Linked DNA regions of Homo sapiens: region 1 is linked to region 2. The links are contacts of gene promoters, found by promoter capture Hi-C in human tissues and cell types (Jung and others, 2019). All regions are on one chromosome and are shown on one strand. Each heading gives the region's core, a stretch centred on a gene start or on the middle of the fragment in contact. The rest is flanking DNA. Distances are from core to core; before and after follow the strand shown.

Region 1 (3,728 bases), core at 999-3,498, 1.2 Mb before region 2:
TCCATACAATCTCTTTCACAACTCTTGAACGCTCCTGTTATTGTTAGAAGGCAACCACAGAAAATCTGTAAACAAATGTATGTGGCTATGTTCCAAGTAACTTCATGGACACTGAAATGTGAATTTCATATAATTTTCACATGTTGTGAAACATTATTCTTTTGGCGTTTTTCTCCCCAACCACTTAGAAATGTAAAAACCACTCCTAGCTTGAAGGCTGTACAAAAACTGGAGGCAGCCTGGATCAATTTGTCGACCTGCTCTATAAAGCAAGATTTGATTACGGTACTCTAGAGATAATGGGAAAGAATGAACCAGGCAACTCTTGTGTCAAGCCTCAAGCCTGCTCTTCTAGGCAGTGTGGAGTCTAGCGTAATAAGTCTTTTTCAACCAACAATGGAAGACTATTAAACATAGACAAATATAACCCATCCACCACCTTCACTCTAAGCTGCTACAAAACTGGCAGACAGGGCTGTGAGTCACAAGGCCTTAGAATCTAATCCCAGGGACTCAGTTCCTCCCTCATACTTGTTTAATCTCAAACAGCACTGGAAAATAATGAAAGGTTGACTCTCAATCCAAACTATTATCTTGTACTAGTGTCGAGTACAAGGATGCAGCTGGAGGAAGCTTCTCTAGTGTTGCTGTGAACCGATTTTTGCTGGATTGTACGTTAATTCCCAGGTACTCTCAGATCATGTGAATGTGGAATCCAGGGTTACATTATATTACAACCAACTTGCAGTCTGCCCTCAAGCTGTTAGAGCTTATGATTTAAAATTACCCTTACCTGGAGACCAGAAAGTTTCTGAGACCTCCTTATGGAGACTTACAATCATTAATGTCTTTATATACTTCTCTTCCTTGGGTATTTCTTTCAAGATACCTTAATCCAGCAGATGAACAGATAGGAATGTAATTTCTCTCAGCCACCTGCTTTTTCCTAACTCATGATTGAAAGAGGAAAAAGGAGTCTATAGCTTTTGAAACATGTATACACTTTTGTTTTTTTGTTGAGACGGAGTCTCGCTCTGTCACCCAGGCTGGAGTGCAGTAGTGTGATCTCGGCTCACTGCAACCTCTGCCTCCTGGGTTCAAGCGATACTCCTGCCTCAGCTTCTCGAGGAGCTGGGATTACAGGCATGTGCCACCACACCTGGCTAATTTTTATATTTTTAGCAGAGATGGGGTTTCGCCATGCTGGCCAGGCTGGCCTCGAACTCCTGACCTCAGGTGATCCACCCACCTCAGCCTCCCAAAGTGCTGGGATTACAGGTGTGAGCCCTCCGTGTCTTTTTTCTTTTTTTTGAGACAGAGTCTCGCTCTGTCACCCAGGCTGGAGTGCAGTGGCGCGATCTTGGCTCACTGCAAGCTCCATCTTCTGGGTTCATGCCATTCTCCTGCCTCAGCCTCCCTAGTAGGCTGGGACTACAGGCGCCCGCCGGCACGCCCAGCTTTTAGTAGAGACAGGGTTTCACCGTGTTAGCCAGGATGGTCTCGATCTCCTGACCTCGTGATCTGCCCGCCTTGGCCTCCCAAACTGCTGGGATTACAGGCATGAGCCACCGCACCCGGCCCCTCTGTGTCTTTTCATGACTTGATAGCTCATGTATTTTTATCATTGAACAATATTCTACTATACGGGTGTACCACAGTTTGTTTATCTATTAACCTATTGAAGGACATCTTGGATGCTTCCAGGTTTTGGCAATTAGGAATAAAGATGCCATAAACATTCCTATGCAGAATTTTGTGTGGAATATCAATTTCCAACTAACTGGGTATATATCTTGGAGTACTGCTGGACTGTATGCTAAGACTATGTTTAGCTTTGTAAGAAACTACCAACTGTCTTCCAAAGTGGGTGTACTATTTTGTATTTCCACCAGCAATGAAGAGGAGTCCCATTGCTCTACATCCGTATCAGCATTTGGTATTGTCAGTTTTTTTTTTATTTTAGCCAGTCTAGTAGGTATTAATATGTAGTACCATATTATTGCTGTTTTAATTTGTAAATCCATAATGACATATAATACTGAACATTTTTTATATGCTTATCTGTTTCTTTGATGAGGTGTCTGTTCAGATCTTTTGCCCATTTGTAAAACCAAGTTGTTTGCTTATTCTTGAGTTTTGAGTTATTTGTATATTTTAGATATAACTACTTTAACATATATGTGTTTTGCAAATATTTTCTCCCAGTCTGTGGTTTGTATTTTTATTCTCTTAGCAGTCTCTTTTGCAGAGCAGAAGTTTTATTTTATTTATTTTTTTGAGATAGAGTCTCACTCTGTCACCCAGACTGGAGTGCAGTAGTGATCACAGCTCACTGCAGACTCAACCTCCTGGGCTCAAGTGATCCTTCCACCTCAGTCTCCCGAGTAGCTGGGACTACAGGTCCACATCACCATGACTGGCTAATTTTTTTTTATTTTTTGTAGAGACAGGGTCACAGTATATTGTGCAAGCTGGTCTTGAACTTCTGGACTCGAAGCATCCTCCCACCTCGGCCTCCCAAAGGGCTGAGATTACAGACATGAGCCACCAAATCCAGCTTCCAGAAGTTTTATTTTTATTTATTTTTTTTGAGATGGATTCTTGCTCTGTCGCCCAGGCTGGAGTGCAGTGGTGTGATCTCGGCTCACTGCAAGCTCTGCCTCCCACGTTCACGCCATTCTCCTGCCTCAGCCTCCTGAGTAGCTGGGACTACAGGCGCCTGCCACCGCGCCCGGCTAATTTTTTTTGTATTTTTTGTAGAGATGGGGTTTCACCGTGTTAGCCAGGATGGTCTCGATCTCCTGACCTCGTGATCCTCCCGCCTTGGCCTCCCAAAGTGCTGGGATTACAGGCATGAGCCACCGCGCCCGGCTGCTTCCAGAAGTTTTAAATTCATTTAAGTCCAATTTATTTCTTTCATGGATTATGCTTTTTGTGTATCTAAAACCTCATCACCAAACTCAAGGTCACCTAGATGTTCTCCTATGTTGTCTTCTAGGAGTTTTATAGTGTTTGGGTTTTACATTTAGGTTTAAGATCCATTTTGTCAAGGGCTCTAGGTCGAAGGAAAAAAGAATCTATTTTAACATTTTAAGTTAAGGGGTAAGGATGGGTCTAGATTCTTTTTTTTTTGCATGTCGATGTCCCATTATTCCAGCGCCACTTGCTGAAAAGATTATCCTTCCTCCCTTGAACTGTCATGTTCTTTTGTCAGAGAGAGTGGGCCATATTCATGTAAGCCTATTTTGGGGCTCTCTATTCTGTTCTGTTGATCAATTTGTCTACTCTTTCTCTAATGTATGCTGTCTTCTTTTTTTTTTGAGACGGAGTTTCACACTTGTTGCCCAGGCTGGAGTGCAATGGTGCAATCTCGGCTCACTGCAACCTCTGCCTCCTGGGTTCAAGCGATTCTCCTGTCTTAGCCTCCCGAGCAGCTGGGATTACAGGTGCCTGCCACTACACCCGGCTAATTTTTGTATTTTTAATACAGATGGGGTTTCACCCCATTGGCCAGGCTGCTCTTGAACTCCTGACCTCAGGTGATCTGCCTGCCTCAGCCTCCCAAAGTGTTGGGAGTGCGGGCGTGAGCCACTGCGCCCGGCCTATGCTGTCTTGTTTACTTGCTTTACAGAGAATCTTGATGTCAGGTAGTGTCAGTCCTCTAACTTGTTCCTTTTCAGTACTATGTTAGCCATCTAAATCTTTTGCTTTTCCATATAAACATTAGA
Region 2 (3,378 bases), core at 495-2,994:
TACAAAGGGACATCTGTCCACAGAGCAGGTTGACCACCTGGTGACCCAAGCCCTCCAAAAAGAGCTTTCTTGTAACAGCAGCAGAAAATGCTTGCTGGACCAGATGACACAAAAGAAACAACTCTCTAAGGGTGTCAGGGACTGGACCCGACAGGCACCCACCTCCCTGCCTAGTCAACCTGCCTCCACATTTACCTCCTCCCCATATGAGCCCAGCCGCATTTGCTCAGCTGTAAAGAAACTCAAAGTTCAGAGCTACACTGGTGACAAAGGCAAAAAGAGTAGCCCGAGGCTGACATTGCCACAAACCCCAGTCCCTTTGCAACAGTGGAAGAAAAGGCACTTCAGAGATCAATGTACAATCCAGGGCAGCAACCAGCGCCTGTTTTAACTGTTAAGATTAATGCTTTGAGCACTGGAACTGCTCCTCTAAATACCCAATTTGCAAATAACATGCAGTCCTCTGTGCTTGGGTCTCTTCTATCTCAAGTACAGGAGCACAGACGCTCAGAGGGGTCAAGGACACCGTGTTTACTTCCTAAGGTGTGAGGGATGGGAAGACAGGACCGGCTGAGATGAAAGGGGAACTGTCACATAGGCTCTGGAGCTGCCCCAGTCAACCTTAACCCCTTCTCATTAAAGTTTGGGGGAGGAAGGGGGAGGGGCGGTTCCTCGGAGACCACAGCAAACATTCGCCTCCTCGTGTCTGGAGATGGAGCATCACTTAAGAGGAAATGAACCCGGTTAAGGGTCACGTCCAGAGGAGGGATAAAAGGAAAAGCCACAATTCTCCTCACACCGACGGACACAATGGCTTTATGAGGGAAATCAAAGCTTAGCGCGGAGGGTGGAGGTTGGGCAAGGGGGCGGCGGCTTCCTTCTGCCCCCAGCCCCAGGCCTAGGAAGGCAGAGACAGAGCTGGCGTGGGAGGCAGGGCGCGAGGCTTCCTTCTCCAGGGCGAGCTCTGAAAGCATCTCGGGCTGTGTGAGCGTGAGCGCCCAGGGCCCCTGGGGAGGGCCGAGGAGATGCGCTTTCCCGACGGGGCTGCTCTGTGAGGGGTTGACGAAAGCTCCCCCCACCATCCATCAAAGGCGGACAGATGACTTCACCGTTGTAACAGACAAGGGCAGCCACTTGCCAATTCCAATGCCAAAAAAAGAAACCGGGGGGGCGGGGGTGCGAAGGAGGAAGGACAGAAGAGGCTTCCCTGGAGATCACAGCCCTGCGAAGAAACTCCACGGCTGCTGGCTGCCCAGTGGGCGCTTAGCTTCGCGACCTCACAGCTGGGAGGGGCAAGGGGCCATCCGGGGCCCTCCCGGGACCTCGGGCCACCCCCAGCAGGGTCGGCGGGGGCTGTACTCACGTAGTGCTTGGAGGGGTTCCTCCGCTTCTCCACGTCCACCACGGTGGCATCCTGCACGCAGTAGGCGAGCATCTTCCCCCACAAAGCGAGTGGCGCCCCCGGCGGCGTCACCTTCTCATCCCGGCCGGGCTCCGGCTCCTTCTCCAGCTGCCGGGGTCCCGGGGCCGCCCGCCACCCCGGCCCGGCGCGCCGAACGCTGCCCGGACTCCCGGCGCCCACAGGTCCGGCCCAGGGACGGGGGAGGGTCCCGGAGGGCGCGCGGGCTCCGTGCGCCCCGGGGGACTCCCCGCCGGCCTGCCGCGCGCCCCTTCACTCCCGCGCGGCCGCCGCGCTGCGCTCGCCCGCTCGCTCTCTCCGCCGCCCGGTGGGTCCGGCGGGAACTGGCGGAGCAGAGGAGGGGCGGGGGTGTGTCCCGTCGGCGAGGGGACGGGGCGGGGGCCCCGGAGCCTGCTGTCAGCGTCCTGGGGAGGGGCCGGCGGCTCCCCTTCGCCGCTCTCCGGCTCGGGCTCCGGGGGGATCGGCGCTGGCGGAGGCTGTGGGCGCAGGAGGCGGAGGCAGGGCCTGGCAGGCAGGGAAGGGAAGGGAGGGAGGGGAGAGAGGGGAAGCGCGCGGGGAGGGGCTCCGGGCCGGGGGAGGGGCTCGGGGCGACGGGGAGGGGGCTGCAGCCCGGCCCCAGTGGCAGGGGCGGGCCGACGAGCCCCCACCCGAGCCCAGCGCGCAGCCAGCGGCCTGGCGCAGCACCGGGCTAGTTCGCTAGGCACAAAAACTCAGGGTGGCTTCGGGGGGAGAGGGAGCGGGGAAAGTGAGCCCCGCGCGCCCCCATCCTGGCTTTCCGCCTCGGAGCGGATTTGTGCCTTTTTGTCCCCACTTTTATGTCCCCCTACAACTTCCACCCCCAGATCTCTTTAATGAGAAGTAGTTTATTACCCGGCTGTTACTGCCCAGGCCCCCGAGGAGGAGATGGGAATGGGGAAAAGGCCAGCTTTAAATCCTTCAAGCCAGAGCCTCTTTGGACGAACCACCTGACCCTCTGCAGGTCATAAAGGGTGAATTCTCCCCGGAAAAGTGATCGATTCGTTGCCTGAGTCGTCCATCGATCTGGGCTTGTGTAACTACCCTGTGCATCATTTACCAATGACAACGTTACAGACTCTGCATAACACCACTGCCTTAAGCCCAGGGCTCCCCTGGGGACCCTCCCCAAGCTGGCGACAGGGAAAGGAGCATACAATGGTGGGAAAACCCACCCGGTTGGAGGCCAGCTCACCGTGAGCCCCAGGCTCTGGCATTCTCACCCCTCCCTCTAGTCTGGAAAACCCACTTTCCAAGCCACTTGTCCGTGGTCCCTGGACTTGGAGCACAGTTACTACTTAATTCAATGTAGCTTCCCCCCTTCTAGTTCAACATTTTTTTCCCATTCTGCTTTCAAACATTTAAAGGGTAGTGTTTTCACAACTACTCCAGTTGTTACACAATCACAATAAAGCTTTGTGACTGTGGACCAATGTGAAACATCTGAAAAGAGGACAAATAATTTTGTGACCTAATTGCATTAATACTTTCTTCTGCGCGTTCTCTAGACTGTCAGAACCCAGGCACAGATCTAAGGCTTTATTTATTCACATATTTGCTCCATACAGAGTAACCCACTATTCCTCCAACCTTCCTGGGGAAGGGCGCTAGGACACCAAACGATGGCACGGGACAAAGAAAAAAAAAGATGGATGGGCCTAGGGGGCTCAGACTGTGAGAGATCTTGGCACCAGGCCAGAGCTTCTTGGTCAGAGAAGATGACAGAAAACCTTTGTGAATGTTGGAGCAGGAGTCCTGGGGGAAGGTGCACCTGGTAATGTTGCTCAGCTGATGGGAAAATGGGAGGACAGGGCACTACCTCCATGAGCAAGGATTATTCCCTGAAGGGATGAGAGGTAGACCTGGAACGGGCCCTCCATATTGAGCTCCCGAACTTGGGAGGGTGCTGGCCAGCTCCAGGTCCTCTCTGATGATGGATCAAG

The links. Contacts are between HindIII fragments. The study calls those that stand out against the background at their distance.
Region 1: a contact is called between a fragment that was not itself captured here and the fragment with the promoter of SH3PXD2A in region 2, in 1 of the 25 tissues and cell types used here (hippocampus).

What each region holds. Positions count from the first base shown.
Region 1 is chr10:102,691,416-102,695,143 of GRCh38, forward strand. All of the region lies in intron 3 of ARL3 (ARF like GTPase 3), which reads right to left. Among named protein-coding and RNA genes, the nearest start is that of ARL3, 21 kb to the right of the region's middle. The HindIII fragment of the contact is 6,261 bases long and covers 1-3,728 here.
Region 2 is chr10:103,853,832-103,857,209 of GRCh38, forward strand. SH3PXD2A (SH3 and PX domains 2A) reads right to left here and starts at 1,745. Exons shown (of 15, transcript NM_001394015.1): 1 at 1,364-1,745. The coding sequence starts at 1,435. The HindIII fragment of the contact is 10,601 bases long and covers 1-3,378 here.